3 separate regions of the Homo sapiens genome follow, and regions 1 and 3 are each linked to region 2. The links are contacts of gene promoters, found by promoter capture Hi-C in blood cells and fetal thymus (Javierre and others, 2016). All regions are on one chromosome and are shown on one strand. Each heading gives the region's core, a stretch centred on a gene start or on the middle of the fragment in contact. The rest is flanking DNA. Distances are from core to core; before and after follow the strand shown.

Region 1 (4,509 bases), core at 693-3,192, 370 kb before region 2:
ACACTTGATGGCTTTCAGCTCACAGCTCTTGTGGCTTAGGTCTCTGGGTGCCAGGTTCCAGACCTGGACCTGCCACAGAAGTATCGGCTGATCTTGGAAAAATCATGAAACCTGTTTGTTTCTAATATCTCCTTGGGATACATTTGGTAAACAGTGCTTTGGCTGAAAAGAGTGGATGCTGGCATGAGGAAAATGGAGATCTTAACAAATGTGTAGAATGTTAATTCTTCCATGTCTTTCTCTTCCTTTAGGTGTTTTTCAGCCCTAGCTATACATTGGAATCAACTGGCAAACTTTGAAAAAATCACAAAGCCTATGCCACAACCCAGAGGTTCTGAGGTGCAGCCAGAGTATAGAACCTGTAATCTAGGTAATGGCTCTCACTGGAAAACAGCTGTGGCACTGGTATAGGAGCAATGAGGGGCTCACGCAGAACTCCCTGTGTGGGCTCACCTGGCCTTCCAAAGGCCCAGCCTGACCACTTGGGACCAAAGTGACCCTTACTATTAAAGGCTTCTAACATTCACAGAAAGAAAGTACGTCAAGGGTGTGTGAAATCATGACAGAAGCTCCTCCTCCTAGGAACTATCACAGGAAATTACCCTTTATACCTAAGAATAAAGACCGAATAGAGAGAAGCCAGCTCTATCCACAACCAACAGATGGCGCTATTGTCCAATGCCCTGCCATTTAGGTCTCTGCCAACCACTTACTCCTTAATACTTGGTAATTTGCTGCATTTGTGCATGATTTTGAAATGTTCTAGAAACATTTTTGACTCCACATATCTGAGAAGTGCAAAAGTAGCAATAATATTAAAAGTGTTACTTAAAAAAGGAGCATAATTATGACAAAATGAAAGTAGAACCATTTTTAAAATCAGAAGGCAGTGAGAAAATAAAATGTAAGTTTGTACATGCATGTGGAATTAATTTTTAGACAGTAGGAACAATTCCAAAGGGCAGAGTTGATCATGAATCCTGAGAAAAGTGTTGTGCCTCTGCAACTGACAATAAAGAGCAAGAGATACGGAAATGAATGAAATGGAAAAGTTTATAGTGTGCGGCTAGATAATTACAATGCCTGATATGTGCTTTATCTTCACCATAAACTATGCAAGTGCTCTCCTTTCTTTCATCATCACCCAGCCAGCCAAAATCAACCACTGTCAATTAGACTGTTTTTAACTTTGGAGAAGGCTGGGGGTTGTTCTAGAATTTGGAACTAAGCATGGTAAAAGCTCTGCTACTTAACTTCTGGAGTAAGTCAGGGACTAGTTCTGTAATCTGAAAGACAATCTATACTCTCAAATCTACGCTACTTCAAGGTGGCAAGGCAGCCCAGTCTGACACTAACCATAACTTCTAAGGAGGTCTATTCTCTACCACACCTGCAGAAATGGCTGGGGAGAAGGGTTAAATTAATGAACTTAAAACATCTTTGGCAAGTGACGCTATTTCTTGGAGAAAAAAAAAGAAAAATAAGACATTTAACTGGTCCATGTTAGGAAAAGATGCTTGGTAGAATGTATCAGCAGGAATAAGAGTATGTCTGATTTAAAGCTCTGAAAGTTTGACATTCTGTTATTTACTGAAAGTACACTGGGAAACTGCAAGCTCAGCCTCTCTAAGACACTTTGAATTTATAGTGTATCAGTCAGGATCCAATTAGAGAAGTAGAATGAATAGGACATAAATATTAAGAGATTTATTACAAAGAATTGGCTTATGTGATTGTGGGGGATGGCTAGGCAAGTCTGAAGTCTGTAGGGCAGGCACTCAGGAGGGCAGACTGGAACTGTCAGGCACAGGTGGAAGCTGCCATCTGCAGGTGGAATTTCTTCCTCTTCAGGGAAGCCTCAGCTCTGCTATTAAGGCCTTTCAGCTGATTAAATTGGGCTCACCTGGATTATCTAGGATACGCTCCCTTTGTTAAAGTCTACTAATTATAGTCTTAAATTACATTTAAAAATTCCATTCACAATAACACCTAGATTTGTATTTGATTCTGTAACCAGAGACTGTAGTCTATCCAAGTTGACACAACAAAAAGACAATCACAGGCTAGATGCGGTGGCTCATACCTGTAATCCTACAGTTTGGGAAGCAGAGGCAGGAGGATGGCTTGAGGCCAGGCATTCAAGACCAGCCTGGGCAACAAAATGAGACCCCATTTCTACAAAAAATTAAAAAAAAAAAAACTTAGCTGAGTATGGTGGCATGTGCCTGTAGTTGCAGCTACTTGGGAAGCTGAGGCAGTAGGATTGCTTGAGCCCTGGAGTTCAAGGCTGCCGTGAGCTGTGATCACTGCACTCCAGCTGCCTAGGTAACAGAGTAAGACACTCTTTCTAAAAAAAAAAAAAAAAGAAGAAAATTAAGACCATCATAAATAGTGTTTGGAAATAAGACTGTTTCTGAGTAGAAGCGCTTCTAGATTAAAAAAAAAAAAAAAATCCCGTATGCCCTAGGAACTGGATTCTTTATATAGAAACCACAGATGTCATGGTCTGGGGGATCTGGTGATATTCTTATGTACATAAACCCATTCATTTATTTAGTTATTCAACAAATTTCATTGCATACTTACTATTTGCTAGTCTCTGTAGTAAGTGCTGACACTATAGGAACATGATCCTTACCCTCGAAGGCCCACAGACTAGTAGGAGAGACAGAGACACTCTGAGTTCCAATACCTTGTGACAAATGGTAGTTCAGTTGAGCCTCTAAACCTAGTTGTGAAATTAAGGAAGAGGCACTTAAACAGAATCTAGACTTAAGCCCAGGGGGATGCAGCATTTAGAGATGGAGAGAAGGGGTGGAAGAAGAGTCATCATAGTGATAATCCCAGCCCCAGACCATGCTGACCCCCACAGAGCTGGTGCTCAAGTGGTCAAACATATTGTAAAGGGCCAACTCAGGGAAGACTCTCCTAGGTCACTCCTACTTTATGTGTTTTTCAGCCTTCCTGTTAATGGTATGTCCACAGCACCTTCAGCCTAGCCTCTAGGTCTTCATGGAGGTGCTGCTTCAGCCAGAGGTGAGTTTGCTGCCAAAACTGAGAACCTGCACCTGCTCCAGGTGCTCAGAGCAATGGCTTTCTCTTCCCATCTCAGCTTGGCCAGTTCATCTGCTTCCCTTCAGAACATCTACCCCCTTTACCCATGTTTTTCCTCCCTTGATGTTTTTCCTCCCTTGACTTCCTTTCAAGTAATCAGGCATGTGCACTGGTCATCTGCACTATTCGTTAGCCTAGGAATCTATTCTTTTTCAAAATGGATTAAGCAATGTCTTCCCTACCTCCATCTCAGGACAGTGAGGGTAAATGAAGCCCACTGTGAAGCTCCTTAGAACTGGTACTGCCACACAAAAGTAAAGTACAGGTTGGGTATTGCCATCATCTGTCTGTCTCTATATCTATCCATCCATCCATGCTGTCTAATCACTCCTAAGCTGTGTGTCACAGAAGGATAGAAAACATTGTTGAATCTATAATACCTAGTACAGTTTCTACAGCTTCTGCACAAAGCAATTGTTCATTAATTTTCTAGTGAAGACAATGATAATGAGACCATCTGAGGGTTTGGGAGACAGATCATTGCAAACAGCTACACCACTGATACTAGAATTCCTAGAATGTCCCATCTCCTACCTCTGGCTAATTGCTTCTTTGAGACTCAGTTTAACACACCATCTTTGCTAAGAAAGCCTTCTGTCCTCAGTACCTTAGTACCAGTACTCATGTCTGAGTTGAGTACCTTCTCCTGCTACCATAGAATCCTCTGCACACTTTGGTCATTTCTCTTACTGTGGTGGACTTTGTCTCTTGACATGAAGGGAAGGTCTATGAAATGAGGGATTATGTTCTAATAATATTTATCAGCATGGCTCAATTCCTGGCACAATGCAAGAATGCCATAAATAATAAATTAGTAGTATGATGTGTATTCCCTTGATTTTTGTCTGAATATTAGCCTCATGCCATATAGACTGTTGTGTAGAGGAAATATTACTTAGATAGGTGCTTAAAGATTTCTTTTGTGGCCTTGTCAAATGGGTAGAAAAAATGAAGTCAGGAGGTCTGGGTTGAGTTTTTGACCCTACATTTTCTTAGAGAAGATATGATTCCAAGCATTGTGCTTCTTTGAAGCTTCTCTTGAGCAGATGTTGTGGGTTTTACTCAGACTGTGTCCCTCACAGGGGCTGGAGACCTAGGAGGTTAGCTTCAAACAGCGACAGCAAAATGCACCAACACCCAAGGAACTTCTAAAGGGTTACTGGTGGAATAATATTATCCTTCCATTTGTGTTAGTTTGTTTTTTAAACCTCAGAGTGTTCATATGTGTCCACAATATTGTGGACTCTTTAAAAGGAGTCAGAATGTCAGAATTTGTTTTTGTATGTCTCGTTTCTAGCACAGAGTAAGCACTCGGTAAATATTTACTGATTTATATTAATATATCTGTCGAGCATGTACCTTCAAGTTTGGGACAAGGTTCTGATTTTATTGCCC
Region 2 (4,500 bases), core at 428-2,927:
ATCATTCTTTCGACCATGAGCCTTGCATACTCCTGCCTGGCCATATAAGTGGCATTCTTAAAGGTTCATTTGGTTCCTCAAACGTATTCCACATTAAATAATATCCACATGTTGGCTTGTTGAGAGAAGAAGGTAAACAGTTGGGGGCATCAACAAAAAATCAGGTGAGGGGAGAAAGGAGAGATAGTGAGTGTGGCCCCTTAGGCATGCTGAGTTCAGTTACAACAGTCACACTTGGACTGTATTCAAAGTTGCCCACTCATCCACCACAGCTACTCAAAGACATTTAACTCGCTAGCCATTATCCAACCGCATTTACCAGACGCTCAGTCTTGAGGGAGGAGGGTAACGCAGTAGGGGATGCGGAGTATTGGTGTCATCCTACAGGTTAAGGACAAACATGCCCACTACAAGGACAGGGATACATCACCAACTTCAATTCAGCCCAGGGTTCATGTAGTAAGGGGTGGGTGATTCACTCCTGTGGGGGAGGCAGGGCGGGGGCGGTTGGGGGAGGCGGTTAGGAAAAAGGAAAATCGTGGAAAGTCCCAGAGGAAGTGGTAGTCAGTTCCCGATGCATGGCCATAATGTACATTGGCCATAAGGTACACTCAGCGCCTCTGTGTCGCTGCTCCCCCTCAACCTTTTACTCACCCACTCCTCCCAACACGCGCCTCACCCGTGCCTCCATGCACAATCCTGAGCCTCGGCATCCCCGCGAGGTGCAGGTTCCAGCTTTGCCCACCACCCCACCACCTACCTACATGGACACGTGTGGTTGGAATGCCTCCCGGGGCTAGACGGCCACCCCTCTTGGGCTGCGAGCTGCTGCCCATCTCTCCACCCACCCGTCCTTATTGTGTCATTTGCCCGGTCTGATGGCAGCCCCAAAGCCGCTCATTTGAGTGGGCTAGAATGGAGAAGAGAGGAAAAGGGAGGCACACATTTCATTCACTAGGACCCAAGATGACCTGCCGCCTCTCTCCTGCCCTTCTCGGAGCCCCCCACCCTCCCTTAGCCCCAGTGGGGCTGGAGGCACGAACAGACAAGGCAAGGGGAGCGCAGTCCGTCAAGGTCCACAGCTGCACACAAAGCCCTTCACCTTCTCCTTGCCTTCCAAGCTCCTCCCTGGGCTTGGTTTCTCCGAGGGTCTCTGATGCCCCCTTCGGTGGTCGGCGGGACGGTCCTATTCCCTCTTGCATCGCTGTCTCCTCCCTCAAGTCTCAGCCTCCTCCTCCCCGCCCCTCGCCACATACCCCTGAGGGAGCTCAGTCCTGGCTTTGGGGGCGCGAGAGCACCCCATAAGCCCGGGGCCCTGCGCCCCAGGGGAGCGGACAACGGTCCACTTTACGAGGCACAACTTCGCCCAGCCGTTCCGCCACCGCACTCGAACACACACCCCATCCCCGCAGCGGTCGGGTCTGGTCCCGATCAGCCCCATCCCCGGGAGGCGGTTGAGCCCAGCCACAGCCACGCTCCTACCTGCGAGGCGGCTGGCGCGGCGAGGAGCTAGGGCACCGAGCGCCCCGGCCCGAGCCCCGCACCGCAGCGCGTCTGCCCTTGTGCGGCGGCGGCGGCTGCAGCGGCCGCTGGGTGGCCCGCTGGCTGGCTGGTTGGCTGGCTGGCTGGCTGGCTGGCTGGCTGGCTCGCTGGCTGGCTGCCCGGCTGACTCCTCACTGGGGCTTCCTGTAGGGCTGGACAAAGGACATTTCCTGGGAGGAGCGGGAGAATGTTCCCAGCATGCCTCGATTTGTAGTTCCCGGGGACTTCCTGCCACCGCAGCAGCGGGCGCCCTGGAGGTAGCTCGGGCCAGGCTAGGACTCCGGGACAGGAGGAAAGGCGCTCGCTGCTTCTCTAAGCGCTGTGGGGAAGGGAGCGGCCGGCGGGTCTTGCCCCACGCCCCGCCCCGCGGCGCTCAAGGAGCCCGCTGTCCCGGAGCACGCGAGATCCCAGCGCTGCACTCCGAGCTCGCGGCACCGGTTGCGGGCAGCCGGTGGGACGCTGCCGCTGAGCTGTCCCATGGTTCGGGAGGGCTCTGCGGTGGGAGAGGCCTTTTCTTTAAAAACTGGGAAGTTTGTGGTGGGTTCGCTTTTTAAAAATTAATCTAAAAACACAAAATCTATCTTTTAAAATAGATTTTCTTTTTGTCTTTTACGCCGTTGACATCCTGCTGGGGGCCGATTAAAGAACTTGATTGCTCACCAGGAATTCAGGTTCCTTAAGATCTTGGCGCTTCATCTTTAAAACCATACAGAGCTGATTGTTTCCAGATCCCGACCCGGTGACATTCCTCCCTCATTGTTGACCTTGTCCCAAACATCTTTTCAAGAAAAGCAATTAAATTGAGATTGAAAATAAATTACGTAAATTAAATATTAGACGTGAAAACCTGTGTGCTGCTGAATTAGGAAAGTGCTGGACTTTCTGCGTATCTTTCCTTCATTAACCTTTAGGATTCAGCTTCTTGGTCCCATAAAACAGATGTGCTGGCCACTGTATATTGAGTGTGTGTATTTCGGGAGTGGAAGGGTGAGGAGAAGAGGACATTGGCTACAAGAGAGGAACTCTACTTCCAGCCTAGCAAGAGTCTATGATGCCCTGCACATGTTTTTGTCTATTTCTGGGACCACAGACTCAGGACCCTTAGAAAATCAAGGAAGGACCACATAGAGACTAAATGACTAAAAGCTATATTCTCTCCTGGAGCATGAGCAGAAAGTAATAAACTGAACTAGGAAAGGACAAGTTCTAGGATGCTCTAGAATGTGTTTGAAAAGTAATCAGATAGAAAAGTCTCTGGGAGGCCGGGCGCGGTGGCTCACGCCTGTAATCCCAGCACTTTGGGAGGCCGAGGCGGGCGTACTACGAGGTCAGGAGATGGAGACCATCCTGGCTAATACGGTGAAACCCCGTCTCTACTAAAAAAAAAAACACCAAAAATTAGCCGGGCGTGGTGGCGGGCACCTGTAGTCCCAGCTACTCGGGAGGCTGAGGCAGGAGACTGGAATGAACCTGGGAGGCAGACCTTGCAGTGAGCTGAGATCATGTCAGTGCACTCCAGCCTGGGCAACAAAGTGAGACTCCGTCTCAAAAAAAAAAAAGAAAGAAAGAAAGAAAAGTCTCTGGGCTTGGTGGCTCATGCCTGTAATCACAGCACTTTGGGAGGCCGAAGTGGGAGGGTCACTTGAGCCCAGGAGTTCAAGACCAGCCTGGGCAACACAGTGAGACCCTGTTTCTACGAAAAGTAAAATAAAATAAATAGCGGGTGTGGTGGCGCGTACCTGTAGTCCCAGCTACTCGGTCGTTTAAGTGGAAGGGTCGTTTGAGACTGGGAGTTTGAGGCTGCAGTGAACCGTGATTGCACTCCAGCCTGGGTGACAGATTGAGACTCTGTTTCAAAAAATAAGGTCATAATTACGTGTCACTTCCACTTGTCATTTCACATTTTAAATCCATATGATTAAAACATTTGGGTGAAGGGTTTAGCTTACATTTAAGTAAAGTTTATGCTAGAGTTCTCTTTCTCTAGAGATCCTTAACCTCACGGATAAGATGGCCTGGATTAAAATGTAGAATTGATGAGAAGCATGCAGATAGGACTGTTCACCTCCCAAAAGTTCCTGTTGTATGCCCACCCTAAAGGTCCTGCTGTATGCCCACTCTGTTGACTGTCCACCTAAATTAATTGTGCTGTGATCCTTGCATTTTCTGGACCCTACAAATTACTGCTCCTTCATATTCTCAACCTGGTAACATTCCAGTGAAACTAATCTCCCCATCTCCACCCCAAAGAATTGATTATTGTTTTGCAAATCAAGTAGCCTCTAATAGTGTTCAGTCTGAAAAACATGATATACTTGCTTGTAGCATTTAACATATAACATTGCCCATTGAAACTATTTTTTGCCTTGCTTTTAATACAACACACTCTCCTCCTTCTCCTACACTTCTAACTTGAGCTCAGAATAATTGAACTTTCACTCATTATTTCACGCCATTCCAAACCTGTCCCATCCTTTTGTTTCCAATCTCAGTTATTTTGTTACTTCAACAAAGTTTTGTTTAACATTTATTCATGCTAGTCTCCATGTCTGGAGTAGACATGTAACATTCAACAGTAAGATATTTTACTGAGTAACTACCAGCTATGTCTTACCCCCAAGAAGCCCACACTCCAGTTGAAAAGACAGATGTCACAAAATTACTTCACAGTGTTTAAGGGCTATAATGCTGCCTTATACTGGGGTTCGTGTTCTGTAAAAGTGGGGCTCTTTCCATAAGCCTTCTGTTCCAGTGAGTGGCAGGAGTGGACAGGAGTGGCCAGAGGAAGGCTTGGGAGGGAGGAAATACAGACGGTAAAGAAGACATGTAGTATGTGAAATTTGGTTCTGAACAGGGTGGTAGCTGAGAAGGAAGTCGGATCAAAGGACATTCTTCTGTTTGTAGGGGTTTTATTTGTTCGGTTTTTAAGATGAGAGAGCCTTGAGGATGTTTAAATGC
Region 3 (4,492 bases), core at 1,199-3,698, 350 kb before region 2:
TTTCCAGGGGAGAAACTGATGCTCAGATTGCTTAGGTAATGTGGTGGTTAATACTGAGTGTCAACTTGATCAGATTGAAGAATACAAAGTATTGATCCTGGGTGTGTCTGGGAGGGTGTTGCCAAAGGAGATTAATATTTGAGTCAGTGGGCTGGGGAAGGCAGACCCACCCTTAATCTGGGTGGGCACAATCTAATCAGTTGCCAGTGAGGCTAGAATATAAGTAGGCAGAAAAATGTGAAAAAGAGACTGGCCTAGCTTCCTAGCCTACATCTTTCTCTCGTGCTGGATACTTCCTGCTCTTGAACTCCAAGTTCTCAGTTTTGGAATTCAGACTGGCTCTATTTGCTCCTTAGCTTGCAGATGGCCTATTGTGTGAACTTGTGACCGTGTGAGTTAATACTTAATAAACTCATATATGTGTATATATATACACTCATATATGCATATGTGTGTGTGTGTGTATATATATATATATATATATCCTATTAGTTCTGTCCCTCTAGTCAGGGTCCCTCTAGGACATTACTCTGACTAACACAGGTAATGTCCGCCGTCACAAGGCATATCAAAGAAGCAAAGCTAATGGATTACAAAGTGCTTGCTCTCTGCCACATTCTTACCCATGACTTCCATTCAGGGTGACAGGTGGCTACCACTCTCAGTTTGTAGGTAGGGAGCATAGGTGCCACCAGCATGAGGAGAATAGTGAAAATAGCACATGCTGCAGGAAAAGAAGCAGAGAATGATGCCACGTTGTCCCCATGTCCCTATCTCAGTGCTTTCACTCCTGGCCAGTCACCACCCTGTCATCTTCCCCCAGGGCAGATGTCAAAGTCAAGGTCCTAGAGAAAACCTTGGCCTCAGCCCTATCAGGTGGAAAGGAGGGGCGCTGGGGGAGAGAGCTCTTCCTTCCGTGGACCTCCGCAGCCCCAGGGGAGAGAAGGGGAAGGCCATTTGGGCACCGGCCATTTTTCTCTGTACCCCTGTATCTCACTTCAGTCTCCCATCACACACCTCCAACCACAATTTAACCTACCACCTCCTCAGGTTCATCTGGGCTTTAGCAATTACTCCCTCACATTTTACTAAGACTTGTTTTAACTGCCGAGGGAAAACAGACTCAACATGATGGACGCTAAAAAGTTCATAGGCAACTATTTTGGGGTTCTTTGGCCTTTGACTCCACTGCACCTGGGGCAGCAACCTTCCTGTTCCTTTCTGCCTTGCTAGCCAGGGTTTCCTAAGCTTTGCTCTGCCTCCTCTGCCTAACCCCCTCCTCTGGCTCTTGCTTCCTCTGTCCCTCCTCCCCACCCCAACCAAGTGTGCCAGGCTTGTCCCTGTGCTCATCAGCTCTGAGTCAGATTCCTACCCCTACCTTAGCGGCACCACTTCGAGTTAGGCCAAAGCACTGAACAGGCCCTCTTGCAGTTCCCTGTTCCCAGGCGGGAGCCCCTAGCCCCTCTCTCCTCTCTTCCTCAGGCTTCTTAATGCCTCACACTCTTCCTTTCATTGAAAACCTGCAGAATAGAAAAACAAACAAACAAAAAACAGATACGCCATGGTGCAATTTATCTTTTTTTATTTATATGATAAATGTTTTCATGGCCTAATCTTTGTAAGGAACCAGGATAACATTTGACCTTTGGCTGGTGTTCCACCCCAGAGGACAGCATATCTTAAGGCAGGAGCAAGCAACTGCATGAATAGGGATGAAAAGCCACAGGACAGCTCAGGGCAATTGCTGGAGATTAATGTTCATGCAGGGAGGGGCAGACATGGGGACCAGAGGCTAGGCAGGGTCGAGGTCCTAGTGGGAAGGCGAGCCCTCCCAGGAACACATGCAGACTGCACCCTGTGCTCACCAGGAGCCAAGATACTTTTAGCTGGTATAATGACAAAATCTGAAATGCATTCTAACATGATACTTTTACTGAAGAGTGGGATAATATGGCATTTGTTATTGCCTGTCCTAGGAGGGGTTTATATTCTAATAAAAGTAAAAACTCAAGCTAAGCAAACTAAACCCTAGAATTCAGGAATCATTGTACAGGCAGGGCAGGGATTTGGGGGAAGATAGACACCTCAGCCCATGGAAATTACAACAGGAAAATCACTCCCTACACCCACCCTCCTGCCTGTTCTCCAAAACTTGAAGAATAACATTACCAGCAGAAGGAAAAACCAGTCCCTGATTCCCACCCCCACCCCCATCCAGTTCCCTCCTTCTTTTGTTAAAGCTTTCTGTAGAGAGCAATGACTGAGAGGATCAAAGCATCTACTTCCTTCCCTTTGATGTGTGGTCTGAGACAGGCTCTGATGTCAGCCACGTGTTGTATTTCATTAGACCTGATATTAAGCTTCCTAGAGGTCAGGACGACCATGCTGCTTTAAGAACCAGGCTATAAGAAGGCTCACTTTGCTGAAAATATCAGAGGTCTCAGCACCCCTTCAGACCCACTAGGAAATTATACAGGTAAAGAAGTTGGAGTGTCTTTTCTTGATCTTTACTGCTTTGTATTATGAGGCCTCTCTTCAAGCTTACTTTTCTGCCAGAACAGTCCATATTCTGCATTCTGAAATCATATTCCTTCCTCATGTCAAATTTTGGAGCTTCAAGCAGGTATGAAGAGGGCAAGTTTTGGAGAGAGCTCCTGCTTTCTCTAAAACTGAACCTCAGCTGATTTCAAGCCCTGGGTTATCCTCTGGCCAAGTAAGATGAGCTCTGGGTAATAGCATGAGATTTGCTAGTGGTATTTCAAGAACCAGAGTAGAAACTCTAATTAACCTCTCCCCAGAGTAAATTTTTAACCATAAATTTTCTCCTGTTTGTAAAACAAGCGGTTTAAGCTGCACGTATGCCCCAGAGGAATAAATTTCATAGCACATCTTGATTTCAGGCTGCATTCAGAATTTGCTATGGGAAAGTGCTTTTAATGGAAAAACCGAGACTTTCATCTGAGTTAAGGCTGTTCATTTCCCAGGGCAGATTGAAGGCTCAGGCAAAGCCCTGGACCCATCTCTCCTGTGACTGAAGTCACCTTGTCTGCAAAATGGGGGAGTAGTTCTTAACACCACTCAGTGGGCATCAGGTTCCCCAAATACAACCTTAGCACCCTCAAAAAAAATTAATAAATTAGAGCTGTCATCCAAAAAGAAAAATAGAGAGAGAATTCTGTTGGACTTCCTTATCATTACTTTATGTTTTCATGTATATTTTTTAATTTTTTTCTTTTTTTTTGAGACGGAGTCTGGCTCTGTCACCCAGGCTGGAGTGCAGTGGCACGATCTCGGCTCACTGCAAACTCTGCCTCCCGGGTTCACACCATTCTCCCGCCTCAGCCTCCCGAGTAGCTGGGACTACAGGTGCCCGCCACCACACCTAGCTAATTTTTTTGTATTTTTTTAGTAGAGATGTGGTTTCACCATATTAGCCAGGATGGTCTCTATCTCCTGACCTTGTGATCCTCTCGCCTCAGCCTCCCAAAATGCTGGGATTACAGGCATGAGCCACCAAGCCTGGCCCCTATTTTTTAATTTTCTATAACTTGATGAGAGTATCCTCTTTTCAGTGCTTAGGGCGTCTAATAGTCTTCATTAGCCCCAAATAGGAATAGGCCTCTTGACCCTTACCCCAAGCCTCCCTTTTTTGTCTCTGTGAGTCTCACAGCTGAGCCATTTACCTTCCTTCCTTCAGCTGTTTCTGGCCCTTTGGTCCTCTTAAGTCTTGCTCCTATTTGTGCAGAGCAAGGCAGATGCCCTTGCTTTGTCACTGTCCCTAAAAACAATTACAGAGCCCTTTCCTTTGTTGAGTTTTTTTCCCTGATAATTTTTTGGAGATGGATAAAACCAAGTGCAGGGAATTTGCTGCAGGCAGTCCTTGTTCTTGAAGTTCTTAGCAGATGGTGCAGATCTAGGCTCATGTCCTGGCTCTGCCTCTCAAAACCAGGTGGCCTTGGTGACTCCCCTAACCATTCTCAACCCAGTCTCCTCATCTGTAAAACTTACTTAGGGCACTGTGTGAAGAGTAACTGAGGATCAAGTAAGGATTCAGAAGGCAGCTCTCTCACTTATCTGAGATAATTTCTCACTCCTCTTCCTCTCTCTCCCTCTAGTCTTCATTCTAGCCACAACAAACTGAAGATGGCATGTCCCATGCGGGCCTTTGCATGAGCCTTTCTCTGGCTAAAATGCCCTTTTTTCACTTCTCTGCTATGCTATCCTATCCTATTCTGTCCTGTCCTATACTGTTCTGTCTTGTCCTGTCTTGGCCTATCCTTTCTTGTCCTGTCTTGTCCGATCCGATCCTATCCTGTCCTGTCCTATCCTTTCTTGTTCTGTCTTGTGCTATCCTATCCCATCCCATCCCATCCCATCCCATCCCATCCTTTCTTATCCTATCCTGTCTTGTCCTGTCCTAGCCTAGCCCAGCCCAGCCCAGCCCAGCCCAGCCCAGCCCAGCCTAGCCTAGCCTAGCCTATCTTGACCTATC

What was found. Contacts are between HindIII fragments. The CHiCAGO score rates a contact against its expected background, and 5 or more counts as called.
Region 1: a contact is called between a fragment that was not itself captured here and the fragment with the promoter of ZNF697 in region 2, in 4 of 17 cell types (naive CD4 T cells, naive CD8 T cells, non-activated CD4 T cells and 1 more). The highest score is 6.2, in naive CD4 T cells.
Region 3: a fragment that was not itself captured here is called in contact with the fragment with the promoter of ZNF697 in region 2 in 6 of 17 cell types (non-activated CD4 T cells, total CD8 T cells, activated CD4 T cells and 3 more); the score reaches 7.1 in non-activated CD4 T cells.

The regions. Positions count from the first base shown.
Region 1 is chr1:119,274,937-119,279,445 of GRCh38, forward strand. WARS2-AS1 (WARS2 antisense RNA 1) reads left to right here. Exons shown (of 7, transcript NR_125975.1): 7 at 252-1,037. Among named protein-coding and RNA genes, the nearest start is that of LINC01780, 51 kb to the right of the region's middle. The HindIII fragment of the contact is 4,403 bases long and covers 1-4,144 here.
Region 2 is chr1:119,646,589-119,651,088 of GRCh38, forward strand. ZNF697 (zinc finger protein 697) reads right to left here and starts at 1,678. Exons shown (of 3, transcript NM_001080470.2): 1 at 1,103-1,678. It overlaps LOC124904389 (a long non-coding RNA gene), which reads left to right and starts at 1,728. Exons shown (of 2, transcript XR_007066506.1): 1 at 1,728-1,799; 2 at 2,136-2,388. RefSeq lists silencers at 1,095-1,258, 1,556-1,615 and enhancers at 1,674-2,514, 1,686-1,755. The HindIII fragment of the contact is 7,030 bases long and covers 1-4,500 here.
Region 3 is chr1:119,292,648-119,297,139 of GRCh38, forward strand. No RefSeq gene overlaps it. Among named protein-coding and RNA genes, the nearest start is that of LINC01780, 33 kb to the right of the region's middle. RefSeq lists enhancers at 767-1,346, 1,347-1,926, 1,927-2,506. The HindIII fragment of the contact is 180 bases long and covers 2,359-2,538 here.